Linked DNA regions of Homo sapiens: regions 1, 2 and 4 are each linked to region 3. The links are contacts of gene promoters, found by promoter capture Hi-C in blood cells and fetal thymus (Javierre and others, 2016). All regions are on one chromosome and are shown on one strand. The core of a region is centred on a gene start or on the middle of the fragment in contact, and the rest is flanking DNA. Distances in the headings are between cores, read along the strand shown.

Region 1 (2,925 bases), core at 307-2,806, 1.7 Mb before region 3:
CGTCCTCCTTGTGCTCTCTGTAAGAGCTTTCCAAAGGCTGCCACTTGCCAGTTTCCTGATTGCTTTCTATGCTTTACTGCTACTTTATGAGAGAGATCTTGTTGAACTGGTCCTGAGGTTTTTAACTTTCCTTTTTCTTGTTTGCCTTTGGGTTATGGGCCATTTGCCTGTTGTTCTGGCATGTTGCTAGAAGACATTGGGGACAAATGGCTCTGTAATATTTACTTTCCCTAGATCTAGACCACTTAAATGAATTGTTTATTGTCTCTCCTTTTTTGCAAAGCTTACTTGGAATTTCGCATTTACAAGTTTTAAATGAAAAGGTCCAATGTGAAAGATTAAGCCTGGCAGCAATTATACCAGTCCCCCCTAGGTGAACTGCTCCAGGATGGAAAACTGGAGATTGCTTTTCAGCAGTTCTTTTTCATCTCCTTGCTAATGGAATGACTTTTACTTTTTGGTTACAAATGGCAAGGCCATGTAAATCTTGTCCTGCTTGCCGCTACTGGCCTGAACTTGGACATTCCTTTCTAGAACTTTGTCATTTCCCTTCTCTAGTGAAACATTTCTTTTGCTGAGTCCCCTATTGTGGTCTTTACTTTTGATTACCTAATAATCTTTTGGTTTCTGTGTTAACTTGGACAATTCTTCCCCGTGGGTTTAGGGACAGGCTTTACTTTCTTCCTTTATGTGGCTGAGAAACAAGGGACAGCCCTAAATGTTCTTGTCTAGAAACAGGGATACATCCCTTGACCCATGGCATATTTTTCTAACCAATTGACCATGTGGCTTCAGGATGACTCAGATGTTTCAGGGCAGTTGCAACAACTGCTCTTCTCATAGATGAAGACAATAAATTAACTTTGGGACAACATCTGGAGGTTTTGACCCCACACCAAATAACAGAGGCCCTAGAAGCTAAAGGGCACCAATAGATGAGTAGGGGATAGTTATTAAATTATCAGGCTTTATTGCTAGATACTCTTGATATAACTCTTAAAGTATAACAGAAGACCTTAATCCTAGCTACGTATCTACTTGGATCCAAAGGCACCCTAGATCATTCATGTACACAAGCTATGGAACAAATTTATTCCAGCTGGCAGGATTTAAAAGACGGGCCACTAGGGCTGGGTGTGGTGGCTCACACCTGTAATCCCAGTACTTTGGGAGGCTGAGGCAGGCGGATTACTTGAGGTCAGGAGTTCCAGAACAGCCTGGCCAACATGGTGAAACCCCATTTGTACTAAAAATACAAAAATTACCTGGGCGTGGTGGTGCACACCTGTAGTCCCAATTACTCAGGAGGCTGAGGGAGGAGAATCACTTGAACCCAGGAGGCAGAGCTTGCAGTAAGCCAAGGTCATGCCACTGCACTCCAGGCTAGAGACAGAGCGAGACTCTGTCTCAAAAAAGGATAATAATTTTAAAAAAGAATTAACATGTACACAAACTCCAAGTATGGCTTTCTGGTGCTTCATGCTCATGCTGCTATTTGGAAATAATGGGGACTCTTTAACTTCTAAGGGCTCCCCTATAGAACATTATTTGGGAATTTTAAATCTACTAGATGCTTCCTTGCTGCCTAAGGAAGTTGCTGTGATTCACTGCAAGGGACATCAAAAAGAAAACTCCAAAATATGCCAGGCACTGTGGCTCACACCTGTAATCCCAGCACTTTGAGGGGCTAAGGCGGGCGGATCATGAGGTCAGGAGTTCGAGACCAGGCTTGCCAACAGGGTGAAACCCCATCTCTACTAAAAATACAAAAATTAGTTGGGCGTGGTGGCTCGTGCCTGTAATCCCAGCTACCTGGGAGGCTAAGGCAGGAGAATTGCTTGAACCTGGGCAGCAGAGGTTGCAGTGAGCCTGAGATCGTGCCATTGCACTCCAGCCTGGGCAACTTGAGCAAGGCTCTGACTCAAAAAAAAAAAAAAAAAGAAAAAAAAGAAAAGAAAAGAAAGAAAGAAAACTCCAAAATAATAAAAGGGCATTCTTTTGCAGATGCTACAGCTGAGGCAGCTTCATTTGAGGGAACCAGTTAATCTGGTAGGCATGTTGGTGCCCACTGCCTTGGTGACGATAAAACTAGAGCATGGTTAATACTAGAAAAGAACAAAAATGGGCTAAGACCCATGGGTTAACTATAAGCACTTCCAGATGGCTAATTGATGAAAATGACAGATGATATGTACCAAGAGCTGATCAATGGAAAATAGTTAAGTATTGGCATGGCTCTACTCATTTGGGAAGAGATTTCTCATTTCAATTAATATGGCTCATCTGTTTATAGGGAAAGACTTTCTTTTTTTTTTTGAGACGGAGTCTCGCTCTGTCACCCAGGCTGGAGTGCAGTGGTGTGATCTCAGCTCACTGCAACCTCTGCCTCCTGGGTTCAAGCAATTCTCTGCCTCAGCCTCCCGAGTAGCTGGGATTGCAGGCATCTGCCACCATGCCCAGCTAATTTTTGTATTTTTAGTAAAGACAGGGTTTCACCATGTTGGCCAGGCTGGTCTTGAACTCCTGACCTCGTGATCCACCCACCTCAGCCTCCCAAAGTGCTGGGATTACAGGCGTGAGCCACCGTGCCTGGCCGAAAAGACTTTCTTAGAACAGTAAAACAAGTGACTTGGGCCTGTGAATTGTGTGCCCAAAAAAACCTCAAACAACCAAACTTTACCTCCTCCATTAGTAAAGCCTGTTCAGCATAGGGGGTCGTACCCAGAAGAAGATTGGCAAACACACTATACCCAAATGCCCCCATGTAAAGGATTCCAATATTTATCAGTGTTGGTTGATACCTTTCTTTACATGTTGGATTGAAGCTTTTCCTATCTGGCCTGAAAAGTCAATCAAGGTTTCTAAATTTTCATTCAAGGATATGATTCCCAGATTCAGGTTGCCTAAAAGCTTGTAGAGTGATAA
Region 2 (3,382 bases), core at 327-2,826, 1.7 Mb before region 3:
CTCCCAAGTGGCCATAATTGTGAGCTGAGGAAGGGACATTGGTAAAGAATCAGATATGACATGGGAGCCTGACCACCTGCCTTTGCCCAGCTCATGATGGGCCTCTCTGGCTACATGGTCACTTGATGTCCATAATCAGTTCTTACCAAGGCACATTAGCATGGATAGAGTTGTTTTTGGGATTTTGCACTGCAGATGGCCCAGCCTTGCCACAGAATGCCAGGAGTCGACCTTGTGATTCTCCCATTGGAGCTTGCCTTCAACTTTCATGGCTTCTTATCACATTTACTCTTGTCCCATAGAATATCCTGAATTGGTCCATGCAACAGGGCTAAATACACCATACCTGCTAGAGAACTTTTACATGCTATGGATCCCACTGAAAACTGGCAGATTTCTATCTCACCCAGTTTACGAGTCAGAACAGTACTGCCAACTTCTGAATTCCCACAGAAGCCTACACAGCTTGGTGTGCTTCCCTGGTGGCAGAATAATTTTGGTGAAATGAGTGGGTGAGATGCAATAATTTGTCCTTTACTGTGAAGGGGATATCTTGGCATTCAAGCAGCCTACTGGGCCCTAAAAGTTTCACTGAGGTAACAGCTTGCTGGGTCTTAAGGATTATTTCCCATCCTCCAGTGTACAGTATGCTAGCTGCTTATTATTCACCTTATCCAGCTAGCATGATGTCATCAATGTGGTAGGTCATTGTGACATTATGTGGGATGTTTAGATGGTCTAGATCTCTTCGGATTATGACGCAGTGTGGAAGAGTTAACATAACCCTAAGCCAATACTATAAATGGGTACTGCTGTCCTATATAAACACAAACTTAATTCTTGTCCAGCACTCTCAGGACCCAGTTCCATACACATGCTCATGGTTCCTGTTGGTACATGTTGGTTAGATCCTGCATCTCTTTGGTCATATAAGCCCATTTGGAATTGAAAGTAGACACACAGAATGAGGGCAAAACACCTGCAGAACAGCTGCTTCATCATGGTGGGCTTTTTTCATATTAGGTTTTGTTACCTTTGAGTTTTTAAATTATGTGTAAAGCTTCGATTAAAAAAATAAAAATTATTAAAAAGAAACTGAGACAGTCTATCCACCTATCTCTATTTACCCAGTGCTGTTGTTGTGTTACATAAAATTCAATTTTAGCTTCATGTTCATGCAATATTTTCGTTTACCCTTGATTCAACCTTGACCTTTAAAAAGCCAAAAAGACAAATACCTATTTTGACACTGGTTCTGATCTCTCTGAAATTCTGTGTGACCAATGGTCAAGTAACCTTGCAGGTTATTTATCATGTCTAATCTGAAAAAAGTCATTGTATTTACTAATATTTTAATATTCACCTTATAGGTAAGCATTCTAAACATGATTGTGGCAAGAAATTCTTATATGCTTTACATGTTGAAATTCTGTGTCAAATGAAGTACATATGTATATTATTGCAAGAGTGAATTTCTTCAGTAATGATTGTGACAGCTAGTAAATTTAAGTAGAAAGTAATTATAAACTTCCAAATACTTTTTTTAAATGGGCAAAATATATGAAACAATGGCCCTGAAGGCATTGGACATAGGCAGTGAAGGATAGTAATCCATGAGAGATGGAATGCAAACAAGGTGAGCAATACAATTGCTCCAACTTGCTGCCTGAAGAAAGGCTTTGGCATGGGGAGAGGGAACCCAGAAGACTCTGTGAGGTGAGGAGATATAAGTGGGAGTCCTGAGAGCCCAAGGCAACTAGAGTTCACAGGGTAGAATACTAGAGAGGACAGAGTGACACAGAGAGAACTCCAGAGATCTGCTGACCATTCTCCTGAAGTATTAAGCTAAATAATGATTAGTACATGCATGAGAGGAAATAACCAAAGGCTTGGCAAAGAACCATCAGAAAGGATTAAAGAAAACAATACTCAAAGCTCACACAGGATGGTGAATGATTCCTGATCCCGTCAGCAAGAGTGGAAAAGATCCTAATTCACAAGGCACCAGTTAGAGTACTAAGAAAGGTCTTGCTTCAATAGCGGGAAAAATTAACCCTCGACTAAATGCTCTAGAATAACCTAACAAAGCTTAAAAGAGAGACCCAAAAACATTCAAACTGTGTCCAAATAACTTAATCATACTCCAGAAGAAAGTTCAAACTGTTTTAGGGATATGAAAATAATCTACAAAGTAAAATTCACAATGGCTGGCATCCAATCAAAAATTACCAGGCATGCAACAGAAAAATACAACCCATAATAAGAAAAATAAAACATTCTGGGCTAGGTGCAGTGGCTCACACCTGTAATCCCAGCACTTTGGGAGGCCAAGGTAGGTGGATGACCTGAGGTCAGGAGTTCAAGACCAGCCTGGCCAACATGGCGAAACCCCGTCTCTACTAAAAATACAAAAATTAGCAGGGAGTGGTGGTGCTCACCTGTAGTCCCAGCTATTCAGGAGGCTAAGGCAGGAGAATTGCTTGAACCCAGGAGGCAGAGGTTGCAGTGAGATTGTGCCAATGCACTCCAGCCTGGGCAACAGAGCAAGACTCCATCTCAAAACAAACAAAAAATAAAACATTCTGTCAAAACTGACTCAGAAATTACAGATGATGAAGATTATTAGACAAGGACATTAAAACAGTTATTATAATTATATTCCATGTATTCAAGAAACCAGAGGAAAGACTGAAGATATTACAGACAATGAAGGTATAAAAAGACCCGTATCAAACTTCTAGAGATGAAAACTCCAATGTCTGAGATGAAAAATATGTTAGATGAGATTAATGGCAGATTAGATATTGCAGAAAGAAAGATCAGTGAACTTGAAGATGCAGCAGTAGAACCTCCCTGAAACAGAGAGAAAAAAGAATAAAATGAGACACACACCTCCTACCAAAATAAATAGAGCATCAGTAAAGGGTGGGACAACTTCAGGCAGCCAAATGCATGTGTATAATTGCAGTCCTTGAAGGAGAAGAGTGGGGAGCAAAAAATGGTGGTGGTCTAGTCCAAAGTAAGTAGAAAAAAAAGAAATAGAGCAGAAATCAAAAGGTGGGCCGGGCACGGTGGCTCATGGCTGTAATCCCAGCACTCTGGGAGGCAGAGGAGAGTGGATCACGAGGTCAGGAGTTCAAGACCAGCCTAGCCAAGATGGTGAAACCCCGTCTCTACTAAAAATACAAAAAATTAGCTGGGCTTGGGGGTGGGTACCTGTAATTCCAGCTACTCGGGAGGCTGAGGCAGGAGAATCACTTGAACCCAGGAAGCGGAGGTTGCAGTGAGCTGAGATCGCGCCACTGTACTCCAGCCTGGGCGCCAGAACAAGACTCCATCTCAAAAAGAAAAAAAAGAAAGAAAGAAAAAGTAGAAATACAAT
Region 3 (3,151 bases), core at 376-2,875:
CTTTAAAAGGGGAGGGGTCGAGGGAAAGTCCTTATTCATCGACTTCTCTCCTTCTCCACGCCCCAGACAAACAAAAGGCCACCGCGAAACAGTTGAAGGTAGAGACCTACTGGCTTTGAAGACTATCAATCAGGTGGAAACCTGAACAAATCACAATTTGGCTTCCTCATCAAGTTTTCTCCCCAGCCTGACAAACCCTCCTCCGCCGCCGCCTCCACCTCCTCCTCCGCCTCCCAGGCTCAGCACAGCTACGAGGCCAAAGGGACCGTCCTGTGATGCCTGCTGGTTTCCAACTTTCCGCTCATCTTCGTCTCCGCAGCCTCCTGCAAAGCGGCTGGGAAAAGGGCAAGTTTGCAAAGCCGAGGATACAAGTCCTGGGGAAGCCACAAAGAAGCTGCAACACCAACAAAGATTAACCTCTTGTGGGGCAGACGAAAAGCGCCAGCTGCCGTTCAGGGGGGCGAACGTGGGCTCGGGCTGGCAGAGGCTCCGGCCAGCTGGCAGCGGACAGCAGGGCCGGGGGTCCCGCGGCCGCCCTCGGCCCCCCGCCCCGCGCGGACTCCCCCTGCACCTGAGCGGGGGTGAGGACAGCGCCGCGCTCCGGCCCTGCCCCCGCCAGGTAGCTCGGCTGCCGCCCGCGCTGCGCGCCCGCTGCCTGCAGCCGCCGGGAGCGACGAGAGCAGAGGCAGCCTCGGCCCACGGCGTCATGCTTCCTGCCACCACATTACGGCGAATCGTCACCGGGAGAGGGGAGCGAGGGGAGAGGGGGAGGGAGGGGAGCAGACACACGCAGCCCCCCGCCTGCCAAAACGCGCGGAGACGGGGCCACGTCCCGGTGGAGTCCCCGCGGGACCTGCCCCGTTTGCACAAAGCGCCGCAGTTTGGCCAAGAAGGGAGGGAGACGGCCACGAAATAAATAAATAAAAACAGTCGGGTCTACGTAACGCCCTGTCGAAAGCGGACGCCATATTTTTTTGTGGCTTATGTCGACATAGGGAAACGTAGACATGTTTTTCCTCCTCCTCCTCCTCCTCCTCGCTCTGGCTCCCATTTATCCAAACTTGTAATCAAAACTCTTAAAAAAAAAATCTTCTTCCCTCTCTGTATCCGCTCATTTCCTCCCACCCGCAAAAAGAGCCTGCACACCCCCCCCCTTCCGTACCCCCCTTCCAATCACAAACCCGGCCAAGTCCCATTAACAACACATTTTCGGGAGCCGCGGCGGCGACGGCGGCGGTGGGAAAGTTGGGCTGGAGTGGCCGGCGCCCGGCGTGCGGGGTTTGGGGCCGGCGGCGCCGGCTGGGGGGCTCCGCGCCGAGGCGAAGTTTCTTACCTGCGCTGGGGCTGTGAACGCGGGGACCCGGGCTGGGAACGCGGAGACGCGGCACGGGCGTTCCAAAATGGAACTCTGCTGGCTCCCCCCACCCACTCCCCACTCCCCACCGGGCGCCCGGCTCGGGCTCCGTGGGAAAGAGGGGGAAAGCCAGCCTGCCAGCCAGACAGACAGACAGAAAAAGCCCCCGTACGGAGAACGATGGCCAAAATTTTTAAAAGAAAAAAAAAAAGGAAAAAAAAAGGGAAAAAAAATGCCTCGATCAGTGGGGAATCTACGCCAAAACCCACATGATCTGTAACGTCAGCATGCGTATTTGCATACGATACCACCACCCGAGCTGCCACCCGGGCTCGGGTTCCGCAGAAAGTTACAAAGTGAAATTCAGCCCCCTCCGGAGACACCGGCGAAATGTCATTTTTCAGGCAGGAGCTGGGGGGGAGGCTAGCCCTAAAGGCGCTGGTTACTGGCCAAGGTAGGGGGGCAGTAAATTAACTTAAAAGTCTGAGCCCAGTAACGGACTCGGTGGAATTTCTGCGAGAAGAGGAGGGGGAGGCGCGAGCGAGATCATTGAATATTAAGCACGACCCCGCGCGGCGGCCGCGGCCAAACCGTCTCCGTGCAATACCCATTTTCTTTATGAAAAGTTCAAGGTGTCACTGATGAGCTCAACAAACTGTTGATCTTGACCACGTGGAGTGGCGGACCGTGGGACCGAAGGGCGCGCTTGCAGGCCCGGCTCTGGCGGTACCCGGGCCCCGGGACCCTTTGCGTGGGACTGTGCGCGGGTGGGGCCACCACGCACCCTGGGCGCTGCCTGCGCCTTGGCCCGGCTTCAGGCTCAGGAAAATAATAATAACGATTTTAAAACTATGTTGAGCGAGACACATTTTACTCCCGGAATGATAATGAGAAGGCTCGGCGTAGGGAGGGGAAGAAGGAGCCCCCCACTTATATAACGACTTGAAGTTATATCACTTTTGCTTGGGGAGATTCCGGGATTTCCGCCCGCGCCAGGTCTGAGGCTGGTTAAAGATCTTCAAACTTTTTTCCCTTAAGAGCCAATAAACAAACAGACGCCCCAGGGGCCGACTTAAACTCTGGTAGAGCCCGAGTTCGCTGGAATTCTCAGATTCGAAGAAATGCACACGCCTGCGGTGCTCGCAGAGAAGTCCCTCGGAAGCTAGGCGGGTCGCTTTCGCAACTGGGACTCCAATGTTCCCAGTGGGAGCGGAGCTCTCACCGCGGCAGCCCCCAGGTTCCCCTAGGCGCCTTAGAGCAAAGGTGGCGGGGGATCGCGCTGCCCTTCGCCCGCCGGCTCGGAACCATGAACTTGTATTCCGGGCGCCGCGCTCCTGCCACAGTGCTCGGCTAAAGAGCTCTAAGGAATTCGGGATCTGGGTACACTTCGGGATCTCAGGCGGCAACCTGTCTGCGCCGCGCATTCCTGCCCAGATGTACCTTGTTTCCCCCTGGGCTGGCCTGTGGACTCTTGGGCAGCTCCCGGGCGGGGACGAGGGGATGCGGTCTGGGGGCTAGTTTAGAAGCTTCGAGCGCAGCGAGAAAACAAAGGGAGCCTGGGGCTGGGAGGCTCTGCGGAGTCCCCGCCCGCCCTGCAGATTAGCAGGCGCGTCGCGTCGGGGCTTCCCGGGCAGCTCTGCTCTGGGGAATTAGAACGAACTCTAGCGGCCGTTTGCAACTCGGCTGTGGGCGCGAGGGCATCAACAGGTGGCCGTGTGCAGCGGAGAGGCCAATGGCGAGGACCCGGACTGGGGTGAGGACGGCTGGCCTTGGGGCTGACTGGGTGGCGGATGCGCT
Region 4 (3,267 bases), core at 517-3,016, 1.7 Mb before region 3:
TTTCTCATGGCCTTTGCAGAATAATATCAAAGTTTCACTGCATTTTTACATTAGACATGAAAGCCTTTCTTGGTATTTAAACTGTAGGTCTAAGAAAATATAAAAGTCCAGAGACAGTTTCTCATTAGGATTTGGAAGTGACTTGCACAAGTAATCAAGACTGTATATAAATGCTGCTTTATAAAAAATTTTGAGAACAGAATTTACTGAAATCACAACTCAGAGATCTCAGTCCAATTCTCCAGTGATTAAGAGAGTTCACTAGAGTTTTCAAGGTAGCCAAAAAGAGGCAGGTATCCAAATCAATTCAGGAACTTTGAAACTATATATGAACTCAACTCATGAAAGAGTTCAGGCCTTTTCAATTTGGATTACCAAAAACAGGCAAATAAAAACAAAAGAAAAAATAAAAACTTACTATACATGTTACATAACAAAGTGTTTCACTCTTTTATGTGTAAAGTCTATTCATACCCTTACCCTCTTTTGGAAACTTATGACTAAAAATCAGGGTACAAAACATAATATTTACAATTCTCCAAGTACCCGAAATACCTCTAAAACAAAAAGCAACCTGTGGAAAAACATTTCAATACCTGACAGAATAAATATGGAAAAGCACAGAAATAAATGTTACTACTACCTTACTCCCAAGGGAGCCTTCCGCAATGAAGTTTACAACAAAGTGTCTTGAAATGTTGTTAATCTGTTGGTATACTTGATAAATTATAAAGAAAACATTTCTATTGGATTCTCATTTTAGGTTGAAAAAAAACCTGGTATTCTAAGTATTAACACAAAATTAAACTTTTGCTTTTAAACTAAACTTATAATAAGTATGCTTTTATCAAAAATATATGAACATGGATTTTAAAAAGCCAAACCCTACAGAGAGGTGTTAAATGAAGAGTTAAAGCAAGTTTTTCTAGTTTGTCTTTCCCATCTGTGATATCATAAAAAAAATATTAATATTTGGTCTTTGTCCCATTTTCTGACATAGCTTCTAAAATCCTTGGAATCTCTGGAGTGATGACTGTTTTGTACAATAATCAGATGACTGGTGCCTGGGGGCCCCTAGATAGCTTCAGGATGGGGGCTAGGTAGCCAGGGGAATCAGCCCAGTGATTAAGGGTTATAACTTTGATTCCTACCCCCAGCCGCCACTTCTGGGAAGAAAGAAGCTGAAACTTGAGTCCATAAACCAATGACTAGTGATCTAATCAATCTTGCCTATTTAATGAACTTCCATAGAAGCCCAAAAGGACTGAGTTCTGTGAGCTCTCAGATAGCTGAACACTGAAGCTCCACGCCCCTTCTCCTCTTCTCTCCTTCTTTGTCTCACCTTGTACATCTCCTTCCATCGGGTTAATTCATCTGTGTCCTTTGTAATTGCCTTTATAATAAATGGGTAAATGTAAGTACAGTAGTTCCCCCTTACCCAAGATTTGACTTCCTTTTTTTTTTTTTTTTTTTTTTAGTGATGGAGTCTCGCTCTGTTGCCCAGGCTGGAGTGCAGTGGTGCGATCTTTTGATTAACATAGGTTTTTAACCTCAATATCATTCGGTTTATCAATCTTCATTATGTATTTGCTTTTATATATTTTTAAGGATTTCTTCCTTAATCTAAGATTGGAAAAATAAAATATTCCATATTTTTTTCTAAAAATTTAAAGTTCTGCATTTCATATTTACATATACATCTAGGTAAGAATACACTTAGAAATGACTATTTTTTTTTTTTAAGAGACAGGGTCTTGCTCTGTCACCCAGCCAGGCTGGAGTGCAGTTATGCAATCATAGCTCACTTGCAGCCTTGAACTCCTAGGCCCAAGCGATCTTCTCACCCCAGCCTCCTGAGTAAGATAGGACTACAGGCACCCACCACCAAGTATGGCTATTATTTTAAATATTTATTTTTGCAGAGACAGGGTCTCACTACACTGCTCAACCTAGAAGTGACTGTCTATATATTGACATAAGGTAGACATCTAGTATAATTTATTTCCAAAGGTGTAACAAAATGATCATTAATTCAACAGTCCATATTTACCTCAATGTACTTCAATTCTATCTCTGAAACACATTATTTCTATATATACATTGGTGTCTGTTTCTGGGCTATGTAATTATAAATAAGGCTAAGTACTAATCTATTTGTCTATCCCAATGGTTCTCAACCATGATTTGGCAATATCCAGGGACAGTTTTGGCTGTCACACTGGGGTGTGGGGGTGCAAGGTGCTACTGGCATCTAATGGGCAGGGGATAGTGATGCTGCTAAAAATCTTACAGTGCACAGGAGAGCTCCCATCCGCAAACAAAGAATTATCCTGTCCAAAATGTCAATACTGCCACTGTTGAGAAATCTCTGTCTATTCCTCTGCCAGTGATAATTACTTCGGCTTTGTTTTTTCACTTCAGAGGTTTTCTGAAGTCTTTTTCGGCACCAAAAATAGCTATCTCATTTCTTTCAAGAACTTTATTGCATGGCTAGACCTAATACAATGAACAGATTTGTATCAATACATATTTAGATTAAGTTTGTTGCTTTGTTATTTCCAGTAATGCTTGCCCATAGTCCTTAAGCAAACTATCTCTCTAGGCCAATTCCCTAGAATTGAAATTGTGAGTCAAAAGTTGTACGAGCCAGGCATCCCAGCTACTTGGGAGGCTGAGGCAGGAGAATCGCTTGAACCTGGGAGGTGGAGGTTGCAGTGTGCTGAGATCACGCCACTGCACTCCAGCCTTGGTGACAGAGTGAGACTGTCTCAAAAACAAAACAAAACACTGAGAAGTCAGTTGTAAATGACAGTTGATACTGCCAAATGGTTTTACACTGAAATTAAGAGTCTTCCGGGCCAGGCACGGTGGCTCACGCCTGTAATCCCAGCACTCTGGGAGGACGATGTGGGCAGATCACCTGAGGTCGGGAGTTGGAGAACAGCCTGACCAACATGGAGAAAACCTGTCTCTACTAAAAATAGAAAAAAATTTGCCGGGGGTGGTGGCGCTTGCCTGTAATCATCCTAGCTACTCGGGAGGCTGAGGCCGGAGAATCGCCCGAACCTGGGAGGTGGAAGTTGTGGTGAGCCGAGATCACGCCATTGCACTCCGGCCTGGGCAACAAGAGCAAACTCCGTCTCAAAAAAAAAAAAAAGTCTTCCAAAATTGTATAAATTTACCTATTTCAAAAAGGTAAATACCTTTGCAAAACTAATAAAACTTTGAACTCTTCACCAATCTGATAAATTTTTTTTGACTTTTTTT

Evidence for each region. Contacts are between HindIII fragments. The CHiCAGO score rates a contact against its expected background, and 5 or more counts as called.
Region 1: a contact is called between a fragment that was not itself captured here and the fragment with the promoter of ZHX2 in region 3, in 3 of 17 cell types (naive B cells, total B cells and fetal thymus). The highest score is 9.4, in naive B cells.
Region 2: a contact is called between a fragment that was not itself captured here and the fragment with the promoter of ZHX2 in region 3, in 1 of 17 cell types (total B cells). The highest score is 9.7, in total B cells.
Region 4: a fragment that was not itself captured here is called in contact with the fragment with the promoter of ZHX2 in region 3 in 1 of 17 cell types (naive B cells); the score reaches 5.3 in naive B cells.

What each region holds. Positions count from the first base shown.
Region 1 is chr8:124,445,248-124,448,172 of GRCh38, reverse strand. No RefSeq gene overlaps it. Among named protein-coding and RNA genes, the nearest start is that of TYW2, 4.1 kb to the left of the region's middle. The HindIII fragment of the contact is 2,542 bases long and covers 286-2,827 here.
Region 2 is chr8:124,461,983-124,465,364 of GRCh38, reverse strand. RNF139-DT (RNF139 divergent transcript) reads left to right here. Exons shown (of 2, transcript NR_108047.1): 2 at 1-2,872. Among named protein-coding and RNA genes, the nearest start is that of RNF139-DT, 11 kb to the left of the region's middle. The HindIII fragment of the contact is 1,028 bases long and covers 1,063-2,090 here.
Region 3 is chr8:122,780,129-122,783,279 of GRCh38, reverse strand. ZHX2 (zinc fingers and homeoboxes 2) reads right to left here and starts at 1,625. Exons shown (of 4, transcript NM_014943.5): 1 at 1,334-1,625. ZHX2-AS1 (ZHX2 antisense RNA 2) reads left to right here and starts at 1,676. Exons shown (of 2, transcript XR_007061082.1): 1 at 1,676-3,107. RefSeq lists enhancers at 1-308, 964-1,013, 2,181-2,680, 2,681-3,151 and silencers at 494-623, 844-913. The HindIII fragment of the contact is 13,394 bases long and covers 1-2,882 here.
Region 4 is chr8:124,478,614-124,481,880 of GRCh38, reverse strand. The region is part of intron 1 of RNF139 (ring finger protein 139); the gene reads right to left. Among named protein-coding and RNA genes, the nearest start is that of RNF139, 5.4 kb to the right of the region's middle. The HindIII fragment of the contact is 4,337 bases long and covers 1-3,267 here.